7 separate regions of the Homo sapiens genome follow, and regions 1, 2, 3, 4, 6 and 7 are each linked to region 5. The links are contacts of gene promoters, found by promoter capture Hi-C in blood cells and fetal thymus (Javierre and others, 2016). All regions are on one chromosome and are shown on one strand. The core of a region is centred on a gene start or on the middle of the fragment in contact, and the rest is flanking DNA. Distances in the headings are between cores, read along the strand shown. Region 1 overlaps MAP4K5 (mitogen-activated protein kinase kinase kinase kinase 5). Region 2 overlaps DNAAF2 (dynein axonemal assembly factor 2). Region 3 overlaps POLE2 (DNA polymerase epsilon 2, accessory subunit). Region 4 has its middle 1.8 kb from the start of KLHDC1. Region 5 holds the start of VCPKMT (valosin containing protein lysine methyltransferase). Region 6 has its middle 13 kb from the start of ATL1. Region 7 overlaps MAP4K5 (mitogen-activated protein kinase kinase kinase kinase 5).

Region 1 (3,649 bases), core at 311-2,810, 410 kb before region 5:
AATGTAGGATATAAACTAGTGAAATACCTGCAGTAAAGAATAATGAAGGTAAATTAGCCACTGTTCTACTCAGATAATATCCCCCTGTGTTTTTGAGAGATGGTCTTGTGCTTTAGGCTGGAGTCCAGTGGCACGATCAGCTCACTGCAGCCTTGAACTCCTGGGCTTAAGGGATTCTCTCTCCTCAGCCTCCTCAGTAGCTGGGACTACAAGTGTGTGTGGCAACATGCCTGGCTAATTTTTTTTTTTTTTAATGTAAAGACAGGGTCTTCCTGTGTTGCCCAAGCTAGTCTCAAATTCTTGACCCCATGTGATGCTTCTGCCTCAGTCTCCCAAAGGGCTGGGATTAATAGGTGTGAGCCACCAAGCCTGGATTTTTCCCTGCCTTTTTTTTTTTTTTTTTTTTTACACCTTAGGTATCTTTTGAAGCAGAAGCTTTAAAGGACTCTGGCTTTGAGATTCTTCGTAATTTACTTTTATGTTCATCAATACCACAGATCCCCTCTGAAGCTTCCATCTTTCCTGAGAATCCCCAAGAGGGAGAGTTCAATCTTATATTGGCTGTTCTTTGGTTGAAAGAAGAGGAGGAACATAAAGATTCTTTTAGATAAATGGAGTGAATCATTGAGGGCAAGAGCAGGAAATGGTAGAGGGAAAAGAAACACAGAAGAGAAAAGGAATTTGGTGGATGGTGGATGAAGGATTAAATGTCAACTGAGCAGCTTTTATTTGTAATTACTGTAAAAATGTAGATCTGCCAGCAGGAAGGATAAATCTGGAGATTTAGATTCTCAACTACCTCTGACCACAAGGATCTATAACAACTACAGCATCATGATACAGTTCATAATCAGTAGTACAAGCCATTTGGGCAGCCCTTATCCAAATATTTGTATCAAAATTGCTTCCAGCCTAGATTTCAGAGAAGTTCTGGCAATCTGGCTTTTTATTTTTATTTTTATTTATTTATTTATTATTATTATTATTATTATTTTACCTTTCATAGAATATAAATTTAGACTGGGCAATCCTATGAATTTTTTTCTAAGCTTTATTGCTTTATCTGATTGATTATAGAAGAATAACATGTTTAGTTCCCAGGGGACAGAAACAGATGTCTCTTGCACATCTTTGTAATGTAACAAACAAATGCTCAATAAATATTTGTTGAACAAATTAGTTGTAGAAAATTACTCAGAGATAGGTACTGCTAATAATTTAATACAGTTTATTTCAGGCTTATTTCCTAAATGTTTTTAAATCAGTATTTCCAAAATGGCTTTTATATTTAATTTATGATTGGGAATATGATACAGGTCTTTTTTCTGTTTGATTGAAATGACCAGCATTTTCCCTAGTCGTTAAATATTCTACAAAAGTACATTTTTTTTTTTTTTTGGATGACAGGGTCTTGCTCTTTTGCCCAGGCTAGAGTGCAGTGGTGTAATCATACAAAAGTACTTTTTTTTTTGAGACGGAGTCTTGCAGTGTCGCCAGGCTGGAGTGCGGTGGCGCAATCTCAGCTTACTGCAACCTCCTGACTCCCTGGTTCAGGTGATTCTCCTGCCTCAGCCTCCTGAGTAGCTGGGATTACAGGCATGTGCCACCACACTCAGCTAATTTTTGTATTTCTAGTAGAGACGGGGTTTCACCAGGTTGACTAGGATGGTCTCAATCTCCTGACCTCGTGATCTGCCCACCTTGGCCTCCCAAAGTGCTGGAATTACAGGGTGAGCCACCACACCCAGTCAAAAGTACTATTTTTAAAGGATCCGTTGAATGAGCCTTCATTTAGTTAATCATTCTAAGTTGCATATTTGTTATTTCTAGTTTTTAAACTTTTTTTTTTGCAATTATAAATGATGTTATAATTTGCGTAGAAGTCTTTGTCATGTAGTCTTATCACTAACGTGGGTTCCTCTGGATGCTAGATGAATTAGGTCTGCTATGGGGAATCTCCTTTATGTATGCCTTTACTTTCTTTTCCTCCAGCCAAGAGTCACCATTCTGGAATGGCTTTAGGCACTTTGAAACATATCCCAAGATCCCATTTTATAGAGACAAAGCTTAATGTATCATCACACTTCTAGAAGCATTCATTCATTAAAGAAGTATTTGTTGAGTGCTGACAATGTGTTAGGATATGGGGATGCAAACATGAGATGAAGTACACTGTCAATAAGGAACATATGGTTTAGTCAAGAAAACAGACGTGGCCAGGCGCAGTGGCTCACGCCTGTAATCCTAGCACTTTGGGAGGCCAAGGCTGGTGGATCACCTGAGGTCAGCAGTTTGAGACCAGCCTGGCCAACATGGCAAAACCCCATCTCTATTAAAAATACAAAAATTAGCCGGGCATGGTGGCAGGTGCCTATAATCCCAGCTACTTGGGAGAGGCAAGAGAATTGGTTGAACCCGGGGGTCGGAGGTTGCAGTGAGCTGAGATTGCGCCACTTCACTCCAGCCTGGGCAACAAAAGCAAAACTCCATCTCAAAAAAGAAAAAAGAAAGCAGACATGTAAGCAGTCATAATTTGGTAGAAAATTATGTGCCATAGAGGAGAAGTGGAAGAAATGCCAAACTCTGCCTTTATTGGGGATGAAGGAAGGGAGAGAGAGGAGTGTGAACCAAGGAAGATTAACAGAGGAAGGAACATTAACTGGATTTTTAAAAGAAGACCAGTGGTTTCTAGGTAGAGAAGATAGGAAAAGATATTCCAGGCTTTGGGTATAGTATGTGCAAACACCTGGAGGCTTGAGAAGCCGTGATGAGTTTTGAGAGATCTGCATCTGTATTCATTCCAGGTTCAGTGTGACATCTGGCAGAGATGTCATTTCAATTATTTATTTTTATTATTTTATAGATGGAGAATAGAGGCTATTTTCTGGCAGGAAACACCAGCTAATGGACTCCATGTGTCATATCAAAGAATTTGGACCTTTTCAATTATTTATTTTTATTTTTTTGAGACAGGGTCTTACTTTTTCACTTAGGCTGCAGTGTAGTGGCATGATCTCAGCTCACTAGACCCTCCGCCTCCCAGGCTCAAGTGATCCTCCCACTTCAGCCTCCTGAGTAGCTGGGACTGGCACACACTGCCATGCCCAGTTAATTTCTGTATTTTATTTTATTTTTTTGTAAAGGTGGGGTTTCGCCATGTTGCCCAGGCTGGTCTTGAACTCGGAGGCTCAAGCAATCCATCCACCTCTGCCTCCCAAAGTGCTGGGATTTTAGGGTGTGAGTACACTGTGCCCGGACTAGAGAAACACTTTTTAGGAGGAAATATCTTACAGTGTAGTGTAAGGATTTTACAAAGTGGCTAGAAATGTAGAGACCAGTTCCCGAATAATCCGGATGAGAGTTTATGCAAGACTAAATTTAGGCCCTGGTATAGAAGATGAAAGGAAGGGATGGATTTGAGTCATATTTAGAAGATGATCAAAAACACCTGGTAATCGGTGAGGGGCAGGAGGAGAAGGGTAATTGATGGCATTTAGAATTTCTGGCTTGAGTGACTACATTGATGCTATCAACAGAGTTAGGAAATACCAAATATGTGGAGTCTGGATTTTGTGTTTGGTTTTGAACATAAGGCATTGCATAGGTGAATGTGTCTGGTAGGTGGTAGGAAATGCACCTCTGGCCTTGA
Region 2 (3,258 bases), core at 205-2,704, 490 kb after region 5:
CAGAGGAAAACATTTTTATTTGGGGCAACAATGAACTGCTTTTATAAATTAATTTAAAATATGGTTAATATGGTTATTCTCCCCACACCCTAACTATACACCTGTATTCACTTGACATGAACAAACTGCTTTGTGTTTGGGATTCAGGTAAAAGGTGATTTTTGCATTTTCTAGTAATAGTTTAGAAATCTTTTCATGTCAGCATCTTGAAATCTACCTCATTATTTATTTATTTATTTATTTATTTGGGAGACAGAGTCTCGCTCTGTCTCACCCAGGCTGGAGTGCAGTGGTGCGATCATGGCTCACTGCAGCCTCAACCTCCCAGACTCAAGCGATCATCCCACCTTAGCCTCTGGAGTAGCTAGGACCACAGGTGCATGCTACCACTCCCGGCTAATTTTTGTATTTTTTGTAGAGATGAGTTTTGCCATGTTGCCTAGGCTGGTCTCGAACTTCTGGGCTCAAACAATCCACCTGCCTTGGCCTCCTAAAGTGCTGGAATTATAAGCATGAGCCACTGTGCCCAGCCTAATTTTTTTCATAATTTACTTTTTCTCTGGAGCATAGATTCAAAATGCCCTGAATATATGCTCTCTACTTCATTCTTTTAATAACTATACAGTTTGCTAATGTTACGCTGGAGTATCCCAGTGCTTAAAAATATAATACACTTGGCTGGGTGCAGTGGCTCACGCCCGTAATCCCAGCACTTTGGTAGGCCAAGGTAGGAGGACAGCTTGAATCCAGGAGTTGGAGACCAGCCTGGACAACAAAGTGAGACCTGTATCTACAAAAAATGTCAAATTTTTTTTTTTGAGACAGAGTCTCACTCTGTCGCCCAGGCTGGACTCACTGCAATCTCCGCCTCACGGGTTCACGTGATTGCAGTTTTAGTAGAGACAGGGTTTCACTATGTTGGCCAGGCTGGTCTCGAATTCCTGACCTGAAGTGATCCACCCACCTTGGCCTCCCAAAGTGCTGGAATTACAGGCGTTAGCTGCCACACCAGGCCCCAAAAATGTAAAAATTAGCTGGGCATTATGGCATGCACCTGTAGTCCCAGGTACCCAGGCACTTGGGGGCACAGGTGGAGGATTGCTTGAGCCAGGGAGGTCAAGGCTGCAGGGGGCTATGAGTGTGCGACTGCATTCCAGCCTGGGCAACAAAGTGAGACCCTGTCTCAAGGCAAAAAAAAGAAAAAAAGGGGGGCGGGGGCTGGGTGTGGTGGTGGCTCACGCCTGTAATCCCAGCACTTTGGGAGGCCAAAGCAGGTGGATCACTTGAGTGCAGAAGTTTGAGGCCAGCCTGTGCAACAGGGCAAAACCCTGTCTCTACAAAAAAATGCAAAACTTAGCCGAGAGTGGTGGCATGTTCTGTGGTCCCAGCTACTGTAGAGGCTGAGGCGGGAGGATCACTTGAGCCTGGGAGGTCAAGGCTGCAGCGAGCCGTGATTATGCCACTGCACTCCAGCCTGGGAGACAGAGCAAGACTCTGTCTCAAAAACAAAATCAAACAAAAAAACACACCACTTATTTGAAATAAAATACTGTAATTGGCTCTTACCTGCCCAAGAACTAAAAGGTCACACAAAATTTGAATAGATCTTTTCATGTATATTTCTTAGCCACCTCATTAGGAAATGTTTTAAAGCTGAATTATATTTTGTATCTGGGATCCCATTTATAGCCCTAGAGATGATGTTATTCTTCTGAAATACTAAAAGAGGCCAGCTGTGGTTGCTCACACCTGTAATCCCAGCCCTTTGGGAGGCCAGGGCAGGTGGATAGCTTGAGGTCAGGAGTTCAAGACCAGTCTGGCCAACATGGTAAAACCCCATCTCTACCAAAAATACAAAAATTAGTCCGGCATGGTGGCAGTCGCCTGTAATCCCAGCTACTCGGTAGTCTGGGGCAGGAGAATTGCTTGAACCTGGGAGGCGGAGGTTGCAGTGAGCCGAGATTGCACCACTGCACTCCAGCCTGGGCAACAGAGTGAGACTATGTCTCAAAAAAACAAAACAAAAGAAACAAAAAAAGAAAGAAAAATACTAAAAGGTCAGGTTTAATAGACAGAAAAAGTACCAAGACCTCTTTCTTTTAGGTTCTTTTTCTATACGTTTATGTTTGTTCTCAGTACAACTCTTATTGCTCTGTACAATACCAAACTTAAATTTTTCTAAGACAGCTCATAGGAATAACATTAAAATAAACATTTTAAAAAGTGTAACCCTGAACAATGTGAGAATTTTTGTGAGCTGCTTTGAGATACAACTGTTGTCAAGTGGGACTTATTAGGCAGAATATTTTTTCCCTTTTTATTTTAGGAAAGGTTATTTGTCAATGAAGAAAATGTTAATGAGTTTCTTGAAGAGGTCCTGAGCTCTCCATTCAAACAGTCTATGTCCTTGACCCCACCATTAATTGAAGTTCTTCAAGTTACTGATAATAAGATTCAAATTAATGCAAAGGTAAGGAAGTTGATGGGCTCTATAGAGGAGTAATGAAGCACAGAGTTAAAACCTAACAAATTATTGATTTCTTAATATCATAACTTTAAACAAAATTTACATAATGGTTGGGCAGAGTGATGTTAAGAGAAGAAAAGTTTTTCTTTTTTTTTTTTTTGAGATGGAGTCTCCCTCTGTCACCCAGGCTGAAGTGCAGTAGCGCGATCTCATCTCACTGCAACCTCCGCCTCCTGGGTTCAAGCGATTCTCCTGCCTCAGCCTCCCAAGTAGCTGGGACTACAGGAGCATGCTACCATGCCTGGCTAATTTTTTGTATTTTTAGTAGAGATTGGGTGTCACCGTGTTAGCCAGGATGGTCTCGATCTCCTGACCTCATGATCCACCCGCCTCGGCCTCCCAAAGTGCTAGGATTACAGGCATGAGCCACCGCGCCCAGCCAAGAAAAGCCTTTTGTCTGTGTATGTATTATGTGCTAAACACTTTGCTATTCATTTTCACATTATTTAATCCCAAAATAACCCTACAATGAGGAACAAAGAGAAACTAACACTTAGGAAGTTTGAGTACTAGTCCAGGGACATACAATCTTTTTTGACTCTCAAACCATGAGAACTATGTTATACAATTTGTACGTTCTTTCTAATTCAATCTTAATTTTGGTCATTTTTATAGTCTTCAGTATTGAAGATGCAAATGATTTAGTAACTACCACAATCGACAGACATATGTATTAGAAGGGCGGCTCTGAAAAATTAGAGGAATTCAAGAAAATTTAAGAAATTCAACAA
Region 3 (3,534 bases), core at 519-3,018, 460 kb after region 5:
TACTCAGGAGGCTGAGGCAGGAGAATTGCTTGAACCCGGGAGATGAAGGTTGCAGTGAGCTGAGATCGCACCGCTGCAGCACTGCACTCCAGCCTGGGAGACAGCATGAGACTCCGTCAAAAAAAAGAAAAAAAAAAAAAAGGAATCAACTATAACAAGATATGTATGTGTATATCTGGAGAGTTTCTTTTTATGCATGAATGCACAGGTCTATATCTATTCCCTTTTTTTGGCATTATAAATGGATACATACTGTACCTTGCTTTGTAACCTGTGTTTTTCATCTAATAATATGCTATCAACATTTTCTATTACTGTGAAATATTGTTTTATAGCATGATTCGTGACATTCAGGAAATATGTTTTGAGCACATACTGTATTGCCACTAGGTGGGGAGACAGACATGAAACAATCGCCCAATTACAATTGGCTGACTACAATTTTTTTTTTTTTTTTTGAGGCAAAATCTTGCTTTGTTGCCCAAGCTGGAGTGCAGTGGCATGATCTCGGCTTACTACAACCTCCATCTCCTAGGTTCAAGCGATTCTCCTGCCTCAGCCTCCCGAGTAGCTGGAATTATAGGTGCCTGCTGCCATGCCCGGCTAATTTTCACATTTTTAATAGAGATGGGGTGGATTTCACCATGTTGGTCAGGCTGGTTTTGAACTCCTGACCTCAAGCAATCCCCCCACCTCGGCCTCCCAAAGTGCTGGGATTATAGGTGTGAGCCACCCTGGCCTGATTACAAATTTGATAAGATCTGCAAAGGAGAAGTACAGGTTCCTATGAGAGTGTATAATGGGAAAATCTAACCTCTTTTGGGATCCTCAGAGGAGGCCTATGGGGTATTTGCATTTAAGCTGGGAACTGCAGGATGTCAGTGTAGAGTGGGCAAGAGTGGTGGAGGCTGGGAGTGTGTAGATTACCCACTTTCCTACTGACCCTTGCTTGGTGAGCATTGAATAAAACCAAGCTTTGAAGGAACCGTTGAATAATTTTTTCACAGTTCTTGGATATAGGCTAGTCTTTGTATATATCTTTAATTCCTTAGGATTAGCCATTCCAGAAGTAGAATTACTTGGGCAGATGGTTAGCACATATTTTGAGGTTTCTATGAGATATTGTTCAAATGGTGTACTCATTTCTTCTACTTTCAGTGACATAGGAAATTATTATTTTAATGTTTGCTTTAGTCAGTTTTTTTTTTTTTTTTTTGAGACAAGAGTCTCACTGTCGCCCAGGTTGGAGTGCAGTGGCGCAATCTCGGCTCACTGCAGGCTCCGCCCCCCGGGGTTCACGCCATTCTCCTGTCTCATCCTCCAGAGTAGCTGGGACTACAGGCGCCCGCCACGTCGCCCGGCTAATTTTTTGTATTGTTAGTAGAGATGGGGTTTCACTGTGTTAGCCAGGATGGTCTCGATCTCCTGACCTCGTGATCCGCCCGCCTCGGCCTCCCAAAGTACTGGGATTACAGGCGTGAGCCACCGTGCCCGGCCGTTTAGTCAGTTTTAAGACACAGATATAGCCTATTATTTTATTTACTGCTTCCATATTGCTTATCTTGTTTTAGAATATTTAGATAACCTTTGTACTTTTAAAGTGTTACAAAGAGTACCTTTTTACACTGGAAAATAACTTCATTAGATACAAAGAAGCTAAATGTATACAACTATTAGAAAAATATCTCTAGTGGTATATAGAAGATAATTATGTTATAATTATCTAGGGCATACTATGGAAATATTAATTTTTTTGGAGGTCCTTCTAATACATCTGTGAAGACTTCTGCAAAACTAAAACAGCTAGAAGAGGAGAATAAAGATGCTATGTTTGTGTTTTTATCTGATGTTTGGTTGGACCAGGTGGAAGTATTGGAAAAACTTCGCATAATGTTTGCTGGTAGGTCTTATTTTTTTTCTTCTTTCTTGAACTCTTTTAAGGGTTCATGTTTTAAAACTTTTTGAGTATTCTATTTATCTTTTTGAGTATTCTATTTAAAAAAAAACAGAGTTAGCAATGAGATAATTTAAATTAGATTTCATTTTAAAGACTTAAATTTTTACATTAAGAAAAAAACCTGTGTGTGTGTGTGTGTGTGTGTGTGTGTGTGTTTATAGTCATGATAAGTAAGAATTAGTCCTGAAGTTCAAGACCAGCTGGACAACATAGTGAGACCCCATCTCTAAACAAAAACAAAAACAAACTGGGTTTAAGTGCAAGCCTATTACCCTGGGCAGGTTACTTAACCTAAGTCTCAGATTTTATGGATGTTCTGAGGAGTAATTAAGCCAATGCAGGCCTGGCCTATAGTAAGTGCTCAATGAATGGCTACTGTTATTAGTATTATTTTAATAAGTTATTAAAATGTTATTTTAATTAAAATAAATTTTTATTATTAGAAAGTCATGGTTAAAGGGTTTTTAACTTGATTTGTAGACTAGAAAAGTATTGTTCATTTACTCTTTTATTGTTTAGGTTATTCACCAGCACCTCCAACCTGCTTTATTCTGTGTGGTAATTTTTCATCTGCACCATATGGAAAAAATCAAGTTCAAGCTTTGAAAGGTATTAACGATCTATTTAATAAGAAGTGTTTCTATAGTCATATAAACTAAAGTAATAAGAAATTATCCATAATATTTTAATTAAGAATATACAGGATTGTATCTAATCAAATATAATTTTATGGCATTATATGCAAATTTAATTCAATACCTTTTTAAAATTTTAGATTCCCTAAAAACTTTGGCAGATATAATATGTGAATACCCAGATATTCACCAAAGGTAATGATCTCTAGCACTATATATTTTTTCACCGTTTTACTTAAAAAAAAAACAAAAAATGAATTTTGTTATATCAGCAATTATTACAAAACTAAGGAAGAAAGATAAAGTTGAGAAAATTAAAAGAACTAAGAGATAAAGTTATCCTCACATTGTACTAGAGGTTTATAATGAAAAGTATTGAAAGGGATAGAGGTAATTTCAGCCATACTTGGAATTTCTTCGTGGCATTACTCTTAAGAGTCTAGAGCTTCACTCTCCGATATGATAGTCACTGGCCACATGTCTCTTTAAATCTAAGTTTAATTAAATTTAAATATAAAATTCAGTCCATCAGCTATGCTAGCCACAATTCAAGTGTTCAATTGGGCAGTGCAGATATAGAACTTTTCTATCATGACATTACTAGACAGTGTTGGTCTGGAGACTTAATAGTTCATTTATTATAATGCATGAAATTTAAATGTTTTTTAATTTTAAAGAGAAAACAAAGGGAATAACTTGCTTTTAAGCTATTGGATAGTGTTACAATAATATTTTTAAATGAATTGTGTTGAATTTTGCTACAGTAGTCGTTTTGTGTTTGTACCTGGTCCAGAGGATCCTGGATTTGGTTCCATCTTACCAAGGTAAGTTTTGTTCAGATTTTTGCAACAGTGTAGAAAATTTTGTAAAACTTAAAAAGATAAACTATATCACATAAATTGTTTTTATAGGCCACCACTTGCTGAAAGCATCACTAATGAA
Region 4 (3,330 bases), core at 143-2,642, 420 kb after region 5:
GGGGCGGCGCGGCTGTGGAGGGACGTTCTGGCTCCTCGCAGTGGGCAAGGGGCCTGGGCTTTCCACGCGCAGATTCCTTCTCTCTTGGAATTGTGTTTTGGCAGTACAGCCTCATTTAGTAGTCAGTCTGTAGTCAGATTCCTTGATTATCTCAAAATGTCTTTTCTATAGTTGGTTTGTTCAGCACCGTAATTCGTTGTTAACGCCTCTTAAGACTTTACGTCTGTTTTACTCTAGAATAGCTTCTCTCCCTTCTCTCTTGTGCCATTTGTTTGTTATATGGATTAGTTTTCTTATTTTCCTACAGCCGTACCACCTTCTGGGTTTGGTTCCTCAGTGTCTTTTCTCATTAACTTGTGCATCCTTTCCCCATACTTCTTTTAGGCTGGAAGCTGTATCTAAAAGCTTTATTAGATTCTAGTTCAGATTTTTTTTTGGAAAATACTTCATATTGCATCACATTAGAAGGCACTTAAGTCTGGTGCACTTTAATGATACTTTCTATTGTTTATTTTTGACTATACAAATAAACAGAGTATCTGCTCCTTTTCTTACACAAAAGGAAGTATATACAGTGTTCCTTAACTTTCTCTTTTCACTTGACGATCCATATCAGGATACAGCAAGCAGTCTCCTCAGTCCTTTTCATAGCTTCATAGCACTCCACCGATTGGATGTGTCATAGCTTATTCAAACAGATTCTTATTGATGGACATATCGGTTATTTCCAGGTTTTTTTGGCTATCATAAATAATGCTGCGATGAAACGTTATGCATATGTTATTTTGTATTTGTACAAGCCTATCTTTGGAGTAGAGTTCTAGATGTGGAATTGCTGGGTCAGAGGATAAATGCATATTTAACTTTACAAATGTAACTGGATTGCAGTGGCTCACGCCTCTCATCTAAGCACTTTGGGAGGATGAGGTAGGCGGATCACTTGAGCTCAGGAGTTTGAGACCAGCCTGGCCAACCTGGGCAATCCCGTCTCTACTAAAAATACAAAAATTAGCCGGGCGTGGTGGCGCATGCCTGTAATCCCAGCTACAAAGGCAAGAGAATCGCTTTAACCCGGGAGGTGGAGGTTGCAGTGAACCGAGATCGCGCCACTGCACTCCGGTCTGGGCGACAGAGCAAGGTTCCTTAGAAAGAAAGAGAGAAAGAGAGAGAGAGGGAAAGGGAGAGAGAAAGAAAGAAAAAGGAGGAAGGGAGGGAAGGAAGAAGGGAGGGAGGGAGGAAGGGAGGAAGGAAGGAAGAAATTCAAGATAGACAAAAGTGATCTATGATAATAGAAAGCAGAAAAGTGGTCATTTGGGAGTAGGGAGGGGGAGGGGACTGATGGAAAGGAGTACAGGAAGTGTTCTGGAGTGATTAAAATGTTCTGTATCTTGATTGAGGTGGTGGTTACATGGGTGTATACATTTATCAAAATGCATTGAACTGCATACAGATATGTGCATTTTACTTAGTGTAAACTATATGTCAATCATAATTCTCACTCCATCACTTTATTGTTACTAGTAATATTGGTATTGTATTTTTGAAATGGAGCATTTGTCCTCCTGGACTGTAGAGTCTGGTGGAGTCTATAGACCAGCAAACAGACAATTACCATACCGTGCAGTAAGTGTGAAAATAGCAAAAGTCCAGGGCACCTTGGGTGTACAGAGGCCCTTTAACTCAGATTGAGGGAAGACAGGGAAGGTTCCTGAGAGAAAGTAAAGTCTAAGTTAAGAACTGAATGATGAACGGAAGTTGTTCAAGGAACTTTCATTCGTGAGAGGGAAGAGTCAAGGATATGCCTAGTTTACCAGCTTGGTCACTGGGTGGGAGGTGGGTGGAGCCCTTCGCTAGGTTATTGAACATGGGAGGAGGAACAGGTTTGGGGGAGGGCAGGGCTAATGGTGAGTTCATTTGGAGGCATATTGAGTTGGATTTGAAGTCTAAGAGAGCTAAGGGCTAGAGATAGGGATTTTGGAGTCATCAGCATATAATTGTTCATTTAAGTATTGGGACTTTATGAGCTGGCCAGGTGAAGGAGCCATAGAAGAAGTTGAAAATTTATTAGAGAAAGAGAATTATGATTGGGAACATTTATGGGAAAAGGGGAATTGTGAGGTCAGATTGTGAGAGAAAGCTGGGCAACTGGAATTGATTATTTTCTCTCCAATTTCTTAATATAAAAAGTAGCAAACCAAAAAAAGTTGAAAAAATAGTTCAAAGAGTACCTGTGTATCTTCCACTCCAGGTTAATAATTATTAATACTACCATACTAGCTTTATGTTTGTTGGTATGTGTGTGTCTGTCTTTTTCATTTTGTTGAATTATTTGAGAGTGGGAGTGCCTTATGGAGAAAATACATGTGATAAATAAGCTTCCTTCAGCTATGAGTTATAGGGCTCTTGGCCCTGAGTTCAGTGTTAACGAATCACAATGTAAAGATGTCTTTACATAAAAACACACATAAAACAAGGTTATAGGCCGGGCGCGGTGGCTCACGCCTGTAATCCCAGCACTTTGGGAGGCCGAGACGGGGGGATCACGAGGTCAGGAGATCGAGACCATCCTGGCTAACACGGTGAAACCCCGTCTCTACTAAAAATACAAAAATTAGCCGGGCATGGTGGCGCGCGCCTGTAGTCCCAGCTACACGGGAGGCTGAGGCAGGAGAATGGCGTGAACCCGGGAGGCGGAGCTTGCAGTGAGTCGAGATCGCGCCACTGCACTCCAGCCTGGGCGACAGAGCGAAACTCCGTCTCAAAAAAAAAAAAAAAAAAAAAACAAAACAAGGTTATATGTTGATCAGTTGATGAAAACATTGTCACCAGAGGCTCACAGGAACCTAATTCTGTACTTCCCCTAGTAGGAATGGTTTAGTATTCAATAATTATTTGTTGGTGGCTACTTATAAAATCTAACTATCACAGGTACAGTAATGAGAATTAACTATATGTCTTTCTATTCGTATTTCCTATCCTTTCTTACATAAAAATTAAAAATTTCTTTGTACTTTTTGTCTTTGAAAAATATTTCACTAAATAAAGAGAACTGTGTTCAAAAATCACTTGTGATGTTATGTTACCAATTTAATATACAATTAGGTGTATTAGTTTTAGTATGCATTCAATTTTAAGCTCACCTTTTTATTTTCTATTTTTTGAATATGTAAAACATGCACATGGATTAAAAGTCTCACTGTAAAGAAAGTTTTCACTTTCATCCCTATCCCCTCACCCCTTTGTAGTTAACCATTTTTGTGGTCTCTGATTTAACCTTCCAGAGTTGTTTTGTTGTTGTTGTTGCTGTTGTTTTGAGACAGAGTCTCACTC
Region 5 (3,471 bases), core at 35-2,534:
TCTTAAACTCTTTAATGCCATGTCTTAAATGCCGGTATTTGCTGCTGAAGACAAAAATGAAAAGTAGGATGAAAATAATAGAATGGCACTGTAAGTGTTTATTATTTTGTCAAAATGTAAACAAAGACTACATAACCCAATGATGGAGGGAAAAAGGGCATGTATCTCATTCAGATGTGCCTTTTGTTTTTGCAGACTATGACGTCTTTAGCTAATGAATTGCCTATTGTTATGGAAAACAGTTAATATGCCATGTATGTACAGTTTTGTTTATATTGTATATTTAAAGATACTGCTAATAACCTATATAAATTTAAGTGACTTGAGGCCTATAATACAATCTGCTACTTTACTAATTCATAAATTCAAAAAAAATTCTATGGCATAGGAACCAACTGCCTTGCCTTCAAGACCTAGTAACTTTCTCTATAAATCTCGTGTTAACTGAAATTTTTTTTAAATATATTTTTTAGATTGGTAATATTTAAACCAGCAAATACTTAAAGCTTTATTAAACATTTTAATCAGATAAGTGAGTAAAGCTTTTATTTGCCATTTGGATGCCTTCGTTCAAAGTGATAGAGTGTTTTGCTGATAGTGCTGTAGCAGCAGTTGTAAAGTAGCCAAAAGCCACGTTGTTTATTTACTGGTTTGTGGCCTTTTACTGTGCTTTGTATCAGAGTTCTTAACAAGATTAATAAATCACCCCAGTCTTAATTTTTAAAAGACTTTTAAAATATGTGTTTTCATTATAAGGAACAAAGGGGGAGATTGTTGAGTCCTATAGACACACACACACACACACACAATTTTTTCTTCACTGTTAAATGTGAGCTGCAGGCTTCTAGCAACCACTTTTATGAATTCATACAAAAAACTAGGAGCATACTAGGAACTTGAAAAGGAAGATTGTAAGATTATAGCCATCTTTGGTAGGATCTTGGAAGCTGATTGCATTTAAGCCTTGTAACTACTATGTAAATCAAGTGTCCAACTTGGTAAACTCTGAGGTTGGCTTTGTTTTTTAAAGAGCAGATTATAATAGTTTTGTCTGGGAAAGTGATTTAAACGGCCTCTTCGTTAAGCCAAACGTGTGATTTAGGGTAGAGGGAGGCTGCCAAGCGCGTCGGGTAAGCAGGGGCCCCACGCTCGGCCCCGCCCAGGTAACGCTGCCTTCCGGGCTTTGTTAACTCGCGCGCGCTGCGTCGCCAACTCAGCGGCGGGCAGGGGGCGGAGCCGCAGGGCGGGGCGGTGCGCGTTGATGTGACGTCCCTGCGCGCGCCGCTTTCTGTTGCCGGGCGCAATGGCGGATACGCTGGAGTCCTCGCTGGAGGACCCACTGCGGAGCTTTGTGCGAGTTTTGGAGAAGCGGGATGGTACAGTGCTACGACTACAGCAGTATAGCTCCGGTGGCGTGGGTTGCGTTGTGTGGGACGCTGCCATTGTCCTTTCTAAATACCTGGAAACGCCCGAGTTTTCTGGCGACGGGGCCCACGCGCTGAGCCGGCGGTCGGTGCTGGAGCTGGGTTCGGGCACCGGGGCCGTGGGGCTCATGGCTGCTACCCTCGGGTAAGAGCTGGCGGGCGGGCGGGATGTGGGGGCGCCTTCTTGCTGGGGAAATCCGGATTACAGGCTTTCCCCCCTGTGCCTACACCTCAGTCGACGTTATTTTATAGGGCTGATGTTGTAGTCACCGATCTTGAGGAATTGCAAGACTTGCTGAAGATGAATATTAATATGAACAAGCATCTTGTCACTGGTTCTGTTCAAGCCAAGGTACTGAAATGGTTTGTATGGCCTTTCAGCTTGTTTTAAGATATTGATTTGTAGTTTGTTTTGAATTGCGTTTCATTAAAAGGATGGAAGGGGACTTTCCGGTTCTTTATAAAACAAGAGTATTTTGAATTATTAAAACAATTGAAATATTTGTTTGGCATTTTTAAGGGGGGAAGAAATAGAAGGCTTTCCTTCTCCACCCGACTTCATACTGATGGCCGACTGCATATACTATGAAGAGGTAAGTATCCAGTGAGCGAAGTCTCTTCACTTAGAAGATGAACCTTATTCCATGAATTCTAAAGCACACGTTTCTTCACATTTTAACATCTTTGAATCCGGGATTTGCCTTATAGTTGATGCAGTAAAGAGAAGATAAAAGTCACCAGGGACCATATGTATATACGCTCATCATTATCATACCGACCTGGTGAAGCATGTTGAGAAAAGTGTTATATGCATTTTACTAGAGGCTTCTGTAAAAATTTTAAAGGATTTTGCCAATTGGATGTTATGAAAAGCCAAAATCCTCTCTTTTTCCCTTGGTTGTTCCCACGGAACATGTTAACCATGACATTGAGAATTAAGTTATAAATAATTCATTGTTCTTTTCTTTAAATACCAGTTTGGGCCGGGCGCGGTGGCTCACGCCTGTAATCCCAACACTTGGGAGGTCAAGGCAGGTGGCTCACCTGAGGTCGGGAGTTCGAGACCAGCCTGACCTACATGGCAAAACCCTGTCTCTACTAAAAATACAAAATTAGCCAGGCGTGGTGGTGCATGTCTGTAATCCTAGCTATTTGGGAGTCTGAGGCAGGAGAATCGCTTGAACCTGGGAGGCGGAGGTTGCAGTGAGCCGAAATCATGCCATTGCATTCCAGCCTGGGCAACAAGAGCAAAACTCTGTCTCAAAAAAAAAAAAAAAAAAAAAAAACATCAGTTTGTATAGTGTTGTGGGCATCGATTATTTTAAAAATAATTAGCATTGAACCAAGTTAGGGTCAGATTTAACTTTTGTAGGGAAATCGTTGATTATTTAAATCCCAAATTAGATTAAATAAAATTAAACTTTTAAGAGTAAGGTTGATTCCATTTGTTTCCCATGAGAACTCCAAAATGCAGTCATCTGAATCCTTTTTCTGGAAACCAAAATCAGTACATGGTTTAGTTAACAGGAGCTTACCCAATCATTAGTTACAGAGGGGTTTTTGTTTGTTTGTTTTTGTTTTAAGATAGGGGTCTTGCTCTGTCACACATGTTGTAGTGCAGTGGAGTGATCATAGCTCACTGTAACCTCGAGCTCCTGAGGCTCAAGTAATCCTCCCATTCAGCCTCCTCAATAGCTGGGACTATAGGTGTGCACCAGCATGCTGGCTAATTTTTAAATTTTTTGTAAGGTGTTGCGGGGGGTGGTTTGTCTCTCGCTGTATTCTCCAGGCTGGTCTTCAACTCCTGCTTTCAAGCGATCTTTCCACCTCTGCCTTCCAAAGTGTTGATATTACAGGTGTGAGCCACTGCACCTAGCCTAGAGCTTTAATTACATGTGCTTTGTTGGATTGATTCAAAGATGGATAAATTGTAGGGGAGCTATAAATACCCCTGTACCTCCTCAACCTACTTTTAGAGTAGAAAAATTTTTAAATCAAAAACAAAAAATATATTCTTTTTTAAATAGTCTTTGGAGCCATTGCTGAA
Region 6 (3,507 bases), core at 431-2,930, 430 kb before region 5:
CAGTTACCATTCCCATTGGCTGCTTTTGCCACAAACCCTAAGTCATCCTTGTGGCATCTCTAGTGACTTCTAATACAAAAGGATCCTGTGGCAGTGGGACCTCTAGTGCTTGGGCTTGTTTCACCAATATTTTTGCTTTCTCAAATGGCTCTTGCTCTATGTGTGCCCAATCCCATTTTTTACTCTTCTTCATTAGGGTGTACAATGGGCTGAGGGTTTGTGCCAAATGAGGAATGAATATCCTCCAGTAGCCCAGTAAACCTAGGAAAACCTACAGTTGCTTTACTGTCTGGGGAACAAGCTGCTGTACTATCTTATCAGTGACAGCTCCAGGTATGTTTCATGTCTTAGTTGACCAGGTAACTCCCAGGAATTTGGGCCCCTATCCCGGGCCCCTGTATCTTTTTGGGGTTGGCTTCCCATCCCCTGTTCTTTAGGCCATCCAAGGTGGTTTGTAGGGTAGTCTCCACATCTGCAAGAGACTCTGAGGTTAGCATGATATCATTAATACAGTGAAACACAGAGACTGAGGCAGGCAAAGAGAGTCTAGATAGGTACTATGCAACTATACTGTGATAGATGGTGGGGTTGTGCAGGTATCCTTTTGGTAGTACCTGGAAAGTCCATTATTGGCCCTCCCAAGTGAAGGCAAACTGGTCTTGTAAATCTTCCACTAAAGGAATACTGGAAAAGGCATAATCCAAGTCAATCATAGCACGGACACTTCCCAGCTTAAGGACTACTTGCTGTGGCAGTTGAGTAATATTGGGTACGGCAGCAGATACAAGCAGCACCACCTCATTTAGCTCATGGTAGTCTACCATCATTTTCCAAGTGCCATTTGGCTTTTTCACAGGCCACACAGGGCTGTTATAGGGGTTCTGGCCTATCTGTACCTTATGTAACTTCTGGATTGTTTGGGTGATCTCAGAATCTTCCCCTGGTAGGCAGTATTATTTCATCTTCGTTGCCTGCCTGGGCTAGGGCAAGTGTACAGGCACCCATTTGGCCCATATTCTTTTTGCTCCTTGATTTATTTTCAGACTCCGTCCTTGTTTTTATTCAGCTCACAGAGGTCCACCAATGCTTCCCCTACATAACAGATTTCATTTCCCATTAACAGGTACAGAAGTACAACCAATGCCCTCTATTATAACATTTTTTTTTCAACTGGAAATCACTCAGACATTCACTGAGTACCTAAAATAATTTTAAGATTTTAAATTACACAAGAGTTCACCTATAAGCATTTATCTCATTCATATCTATCCAATTCATTCGTTTTTAGCAGTTTATCTGGATGACTCATGAGAACTGAGATATTAGACAAATCTAATCACTATTCTAACTTATTTTCCTGTTAACCATTTTTATAGCCTGTAAATATAAGATGTTCACCTAAGTAAAAACCTTAAAGTTCCCCCCTCCCCCTGTGTCCATGTGTTCTCTTTGTTCAACTCCCACTTATGAGTGAGAAACACCAGGGCCTGTTGGGGGGTGGGGGGCTAGGGGAGGGATAGCATTAGGAGAAATACCTAATGTAGATGACGGGTATATGGGTGCAGCAAACCACTATGGCACGTGTATGCCTATGTAACAAACCTGCATGTTCCGCACATGTACCCCAGAACTTAAAGTATAATAATTAAAAAAAAACCTTAAACACATGGGCATTTTGCTGATAATTCAGAAGATTTTGTTACTTTCATTGAACCAACTATATTAAATTAGTCTTATTTGTCAAAAAAACCACACAAACAAAGATCATTCTGGTTTTGGCTGGGTTTACAGTCTTATAACTTTCATGTCAAACTCTGACATCTTAAAATATCTAGCAGAGGCAAATATAAAACTTACCTAATCAGTAAACCTAGACAAAAATGTATGCAGACAATTCTGAAGACATTTCTATTTTATTTTACCAATAATTTTAAATCCAGCTTGTTTATTAAAGATTACTAAATTTACACAAACTTAAAAAGTACTTGACTTTACCTTAATGTGTGAGTACTCATTTACTTATAAGCCAAGTTGGTAGCATGTCAGACATAACATATAACACATGTACATACATATAAACATAAACATGTATGCTCTCTCACACACACACACGCACACACACACACACCCAGTACCTTTTACTTCAGAACTCTAGCCATGAGATAGTATTATAAACTCATGAGACTATAAAGGATAACTGGATCCATATCATTTTTGACAAAATTGGGACCCCTTCATATGGCTAAACTTTATTTGCCTAATAGGTAATCCAGTGAAGGCTGTGGACAAAAATTTGGGGTAAAGTAGTTTTCATAGCAGTTTGATTTTTTAAAAAACTTCTTTTACCCTCTTTTTTTTCTTCAGTTTCAAATGAGTTTCTAACATTTACATTTTAGTTAGAATTGTCTGACCTGTGTAAGAAAAACAAAATCCCCAAGTGGCTTTGAATTAGCAGTACCATAAACAGTGAGTTTGATTTCAACACCAGTAGTTTAATAACAACAGATTCAAAGCAGGCAGAAAAGAAAAGAGAGAAATAGAGAGCTTCAGAAGATCTGATGAACTATAGCTGAAGGTGAAACATTTGAGCTCTGGATTTTTCTTGCTGTAATTTGGCCATCAGTTTAAAAAGGTGCACAAGGATGAGTCATAATATGTAACCAGCTGGCGTCCTAGAAAACCTGGCATGCCTTTGAACTTCCCCATGTTTTTGGAAACATAAGCTACAGGAGTTCCAACCCTTCCTCCCTTTTATCTACCTTCTCCACCAAATCCCCAACCAGGGCCGACATGGATACTCGCATGTGCCTTTCTAACTGCAGCTCCTCCCTTAACTTTTGTATCTATTTTTCCTGCTTTAACAATTTCTCAGTAGCCAGTCTTACCACAGCAACAGCACATCTGCTATTCTTATTGTACTTTAACATCTTAGGTCCTTGCACTACATGCTTACTCCCCACTGGAATTTTCTAAGCATCCCTGTACTCAAGCAGCAGCCCACAAAGGTTGAGCAGTTGGACTATTTCACCCCACATGGATGCCGTCGACCACCCTGGGATTCCCACTGCAGACACCCCTTCCTGAATCTCCCTTTGGTCTCTTAGATCCTGTTTGTGATGCCAATTGTTATAAGAAAAGCCCAGGATTTTATAGAATAATGGTCTCCCAAACTGGGAGGGAGCTGAGACCAAAACGTGACTCAGACAGTTCAGATTGGCAAGTAGATGAGTTTATTAGGACTTACATACAGGGCGCTCCTGAGCAGCAGCAGGACAGCTCTAGAGACCTGTGCTACTTTCCATCTCTAAACTGCCTTTAATTTTCTGGCTCTTTGCCTACTGTGTTTGAGCAATGAGACTGTTTTTCTTAGTAGGTTCCCAGATACTCTCCATGATGTTTGGGTTCTCAGAAACACCTGTTCCTTGGCTGGACATCATGGCCTTGGCTCACAGCCTGGCCTTCCGAGTTCAAGCAGTGGACACACACCCTTCAGTAATCTGGTGAGGG
Region 7 (3,261 bases), core at 35-2,534, 390 kb before region 5:
AATTAATGAGTGTATTTTTTAAATCCTGCAATTCTGAATTCTCAATAAGCCATATATTAGAACTAACATAAGAAGGCAATTCAGTAAAAAAGAAAAATATGTGTATGATTACTTAAAATATAAGGATTAAATGCAAGGATCATAAGACTCTTTTGAAAGGCTGGAATTTCTCACTGCCTTGTTTTGTAAAAGCTACTGATTATTTTATGTTAGATGTGACCCATGTATTAAGATTGAGTAATATTTCAACCTGTCCCCCAAAAAAGAATAACATGGAAGTTCAGTAAATATTGATGATGTGATCTTAGTATTTGGCCATTTAAAAATTTTTTTGGTTGCCTATTCTTATGCCTTGCCCCAGTCCTATCAGGTTATTTGTATTTTATTATTGATTTTTAGATGCTGTTTGCATTTTGGGGATAGTGACTCTTCATCATGTATTTTACACTTCCCACAATTTGTCTTCTGTCTTTGCACTCTGCTTATACTTTTTTTTTTCCATGTGGAAGTGTTCTTTTTTCTCTCCGACAAATTTGTCAGTCCTCCTTTCTCTATTCCCCATTTCCTTGTACTTAGGCCTTTTCTCCTAGATAATTATAACAATTTTGAACTGTAATTTCTTCCAGTTTTTCCTTTTTTTCCTTCCAAAATTTAAATATTTGCTCAATCAGGAGCAAGTTTGTTCTAAGGGATGAAAGAGAACTCTCTCTATGTATTTTTTCAAATGGCTAGTTTCCCAAAGCCATTACTATAGATTCAGTCTCTTATCCACAGATTTGAAGTGCCTTGGTTGTCATAAACTAAATTTCCATGTAAACATAGATTTTGTGTTCTGTTCCAGTGACTTTCTTTTTTCTATTCCTACTTCAACACTATCCTGGTTTTGATTACCAAAACTTTTGTTGCGTATTATAATCTTCACTCTTTTTATTTTTCAGGTATTTCCTGTTTGTAAAATTTTTTTCTTCAGAACTTTAAAATCATTTTTATCAAGAAGAAAAAAGGCACATAGATTAATGTAGGATATTTGGCATTTTGACAATAGTAAAGGTTTTTTCTTATTCAGGTCTTTAGGAAAGTTTTTGCCACGTCTTCATATTTATGGTATTTCTCGCTATTGGGAATGGCTTCCTTTTTCCCTCTTACACTGTCTAATTGGTTATTATAGATATTTACTTCGCCATTGATTTTATTGGTTATATTTTGTCTCTGGCAGTCTTACAGAATTCATATTTTTCTGGCAGTTTTCAAATGTTTTTCGTGGTTTTTGCAACTATACGGACATACATAGAATGTTATTTTGGCCCAGACTTTCACATTGTAGGATAGTGCTTCCAGTGTTATTAACCCATTTATGCTGGAGTTTGCAGTTTTTTGAATTGCAGACGTGTGAAAAATCAGACCTTGGTGATGACCTTGAGCCATAGGCTATAAATAACTCCCACGTGCTTAGCGTTCCCATAATGGAACAGTAGGCATAAATGAGTTCTGACAGAAGTGTTGATCATCTTCCACTAGAGTGATTTTGTCCATTTCTCCTTCCATTTGTGGCACATCTGCTTAATGTATTATATGTGTGTCAGTTGACCCATAAAATTCATGTTATATTTTCATTTCTTAATAAATATTTATTGAATACCTAATATACGCCAAGCTCTGTTCTAGAGGATAGGAATGTAGAAGAGAACAAAAAGGCAAAGACCTTGTTCTCACGGAACTTGAATTCCAGTGGGGGAGTTAGAATAATGGAATAAATGTATAATGCATTAGTCACTCATATTGGTCAGTGGCTTCAGTCTTTCCCTTACTATTGTGACTTGCATCCTCCATGTTTAATCATTCACTCCCTTAATGATCTTTGATACCCTTTTTACCTTGAATATAACTTTATCTGACATTGATATTGCCAACCCTCCTTTCTTTTTGTTTATATTTATGTGGCATACAACAAATGGATAGAACTGGTATACTTGGGCCTATCATTATCCTTTCTAGGTTGTTGATGTTTCTCTTGTAAAAAATTATATTTGACTTTTGTTTTATAACCCAATCTGAATTTTTCTTTTTTTAATATGTGAATCTGTCCACTATTATATTGTTTGGAGAGATGTTTAATTTTAATTCTGTTGTTGTTTTTGTTTTTAATATTTTCTTAAATTTTAAAAAAAATTATAGCTGGGGGTTTCTTTTATTTTTACTGCTGATAATTTGTAAGATACAATTCTGTAGTTTTGTCAGAGAATGGCTTGTAAGACCTTGAATAATATACTTAAATTTGTGGGTGTTTTAGTTTATCAGTTTAAGAAATAAAACAGTCATCTGTTGAATTCTTGGTTTACAGATTTTGAAATTTGCATATTTATACTCTTCCTGCCTCATCATCCCCCCAATTTTCAACTGTTCATTGGTTTATTTGGGGATTTTAGCCCAGAAACTTTCTGATTGCACTGGGGTATGAGTATGTATTACTATGTGTACCTTCTTTTAAGAAATATAATATTTATAATTTATAAATGCCATGACCAATTATTTAGACTTAGTTTTATATTTAGTAGATTTACTACCCACCATTGGTCTTTTTATGCCATTTCCTTTCCATTCTCACCTACTTAGTATCAACTATCAATAGGCTAAGTCATATTATCAAAAAGATTTTCCCGTATTAGGAATATTATAATTTAAATCCATAAATTGATTATTCTTCTCAAACCTGCTTTTCTTCTGCATTTTGCTAAGCAGTTAACCCATCCACAAATGTAGGCATTAACCTCGATTTCTCTCTTTTATTTGTGCTCAAGAATCAGTCTGTCAGCAAGTTCCCTCAGCTCTACCTCCAGAACACATCCTGAATCCATCTACTTGTCTTTGTTACCCATCTCCACCCTTCTAGTGCCTGTTGCCTTGCCCACACCTCCCATTCCCCACCATCTATTTTCCAGAAAGCCTCTGGAGTGAACTTTTAAAAACATAAATCATATCATCACTTCTGCTTAACACTTCCCTGAAGCTTTCATATCAACTTAGAAAAATACTCAGATTTTTAGCCTTGTTTATAAAACCCTACATGATCTGTTCTATCCACCTCTCTGAGCTCATCGCATATGTTTCTGCCTACTCTACTATGCCTCTGTTTTCTTTTTATTTAAACAGTCCAAGATTAAAGCAATTCTTCCCTTTTGCCTGAGGTAACTGTTTTTCAAGATCTTTGCTCTGAAGGCTCCTGGTCATTCAGACCTCAGCTTAAATAAATATCATATCCTC

Evidence for each region. Contacts are between HindIII fragments. The CHiCAGO score rates a contact against its expected background, and 5 or more counts as called.
Region 1: a fragment that was not itself captured here is called in contact with the fragment with the promoter of VCPKMT in region 5 in 5 of 17 cell types (erythroblasts, total B cells, M2 macrophages and 2 more); the score reaches 7.2 in erythroblasts.
Region 2: a contact is called between a fragment that was not itself captured here and the fragment with the promoter of VCPKMT in region 5, in 5 of 17 cell types (fetal thymus, total CD4 T cells, naive CD8 T cells and 2 more). The highest score is 8.7, in fetal thymus.
Region 3: a fragment that was not itself captured here is called in contact with the fragment with the promoter of VCPKMT in region 5 in 5 of 17 cell types (erythroblasts, total CD8 T cells, naive CD8 T cells and 2 more); the score reaches 7.6 in erythroblasts.
Region 4: a contact is called between a fragment that was not itself captured here and the fragment with the promoter of VCPKMT in region 5, in 9 of 17 cell types (non-activated CD4 T cells, naive CD4 T cells, fetal thymus and 6 more). The highest score is 11.8, in non-activated CD4 T cells.
Region 6: a contact is called between a fragment that was not itself captured here and the fragment with the promoter of VCPKMT in region 5, in 3 of 17 cell types (naive CD8 T cells, megakaryocytes and activated CD4 T cells). The highest score is 6.2, in naive CD8 T cells.
Region 7: a contact is called between a fragment that was not itself captured here and the fragment with the promoter of VCPKMT in region 5, in 1 of 17 cell types (erythroblasts). The highest score is 7.1, in erythroblasts.

Annotation. Positions count from the first base shown.
Region 1 is chr14:50,525,161-50,528,809 of GRCh38, reverse strand. All of the region lies in intron 2 of MAP4K5 (mitogen-activated protein kinase kinase kinase kinase 5), which reads left to right. Among named protein-coding and RNA genes, the nearest start is that of MAP4K5, 5.6 kb to the left of the region's middle. The HindIII fragment of the contact is 1,017 bases long and covers 1,052-2,068 here.
Region 2 is chr14:49,627,224-49,630,481 of GRCh38, reverse strand. DNAAF2 (dynein axonemal assembly factor 2) reads left to right here. Exons shown (of 3, transcript NM_018139.3): 2 at 2,327-2,470. Among named protein-coding and RNA genes, the nearest start is that of DNAAF2, 6.4 kb to the left of the region's middle. The HindIII fragment of the contact is 7,948 bases long and covers 1-3,258 here.
Region 3 is chr14:49,654,037-49,657,570 of GRCh38, reverse strand. It overlaps POLE2 (DNA polymerase epsilon 2, accessory subunit), which reads left to right. Exons shown (of 19, transcript NM_002692.4): 11 at 1,728-1,900; 12 at 2,477-2,566; 13 at 2,733-2,787; 14 at 3,357-3,416; 15 at 3,504-3,534. Among named protein-coding and RNA genes, the nearest start is that of DNAAF2, 21 kb to the right of the region's middle. The HindIII fragment of the contact is 1,583 bases long and covers 977-2,559 here.
Region 4 is chr14:49,689,689-49,693,018 of GRCh38, reverse strand. No RefSeq gene overlaps it. Among named protein-coding and RNA genes, the nearest start is that of KLHDC1, 1.8 kb to the left of the region's middle. The HindIII fragment of the contact is 1,970 bases long and covers 408-2,377 here.
Region 5 is chr14:50,114,385-50,117,855 of GRCh38, reverse strand. It overlaps VCPKMT (valosin containing protein lysine methyltransferase), which reads left to right and starts at 1,284. Exons shown (of 6, transcript NM_024558.3): 1 at 1,284-1,569; 2 at 1,677-1,787; 3 at 1,945-2,017; 4 at 3,452-3,471. The coding sequence starts at 1,304. It overlaps SOS2 (SOS Ras/Rho guanine nucleotide exchange factor 2), which reads left to right. Exons shown (of 23, transcript NM_006939.4): 23 at 1-726. RefSeq lists an enhancer at 1,288-1,347. The HindIII fragment of the contact is 15,614 bases long and covers 545-3,471 here.
Region 6 is chr14:50,544,987-50,548,493 of GRCh38, reverse strand. It overlaps a transcript of MAP4K5 not described here and a transcript of ATL1 not described here. Among named protein-coding and RNA genes, the nearest start is that of ATL1, 13 kb to the left of the region's middle. The HindIII fragment of the contact is 6,765 bases long and covers 1-3,507 here.
Region 7 is chr14:50,500,327-50,503,587 of GRCh38, reverse strand. The region is part of intron 3 of MAP4K5 (mitogen-activated protein kinase kinase kinase kinase 5); the gene reads left to right. Among named protein-coding and RNA genes, the nearest start is that of MAP4K5, 31 kb to the left of the region's middle. The HindIII fragment of the contact is 3,450 bases long and covers 1-3,009 here.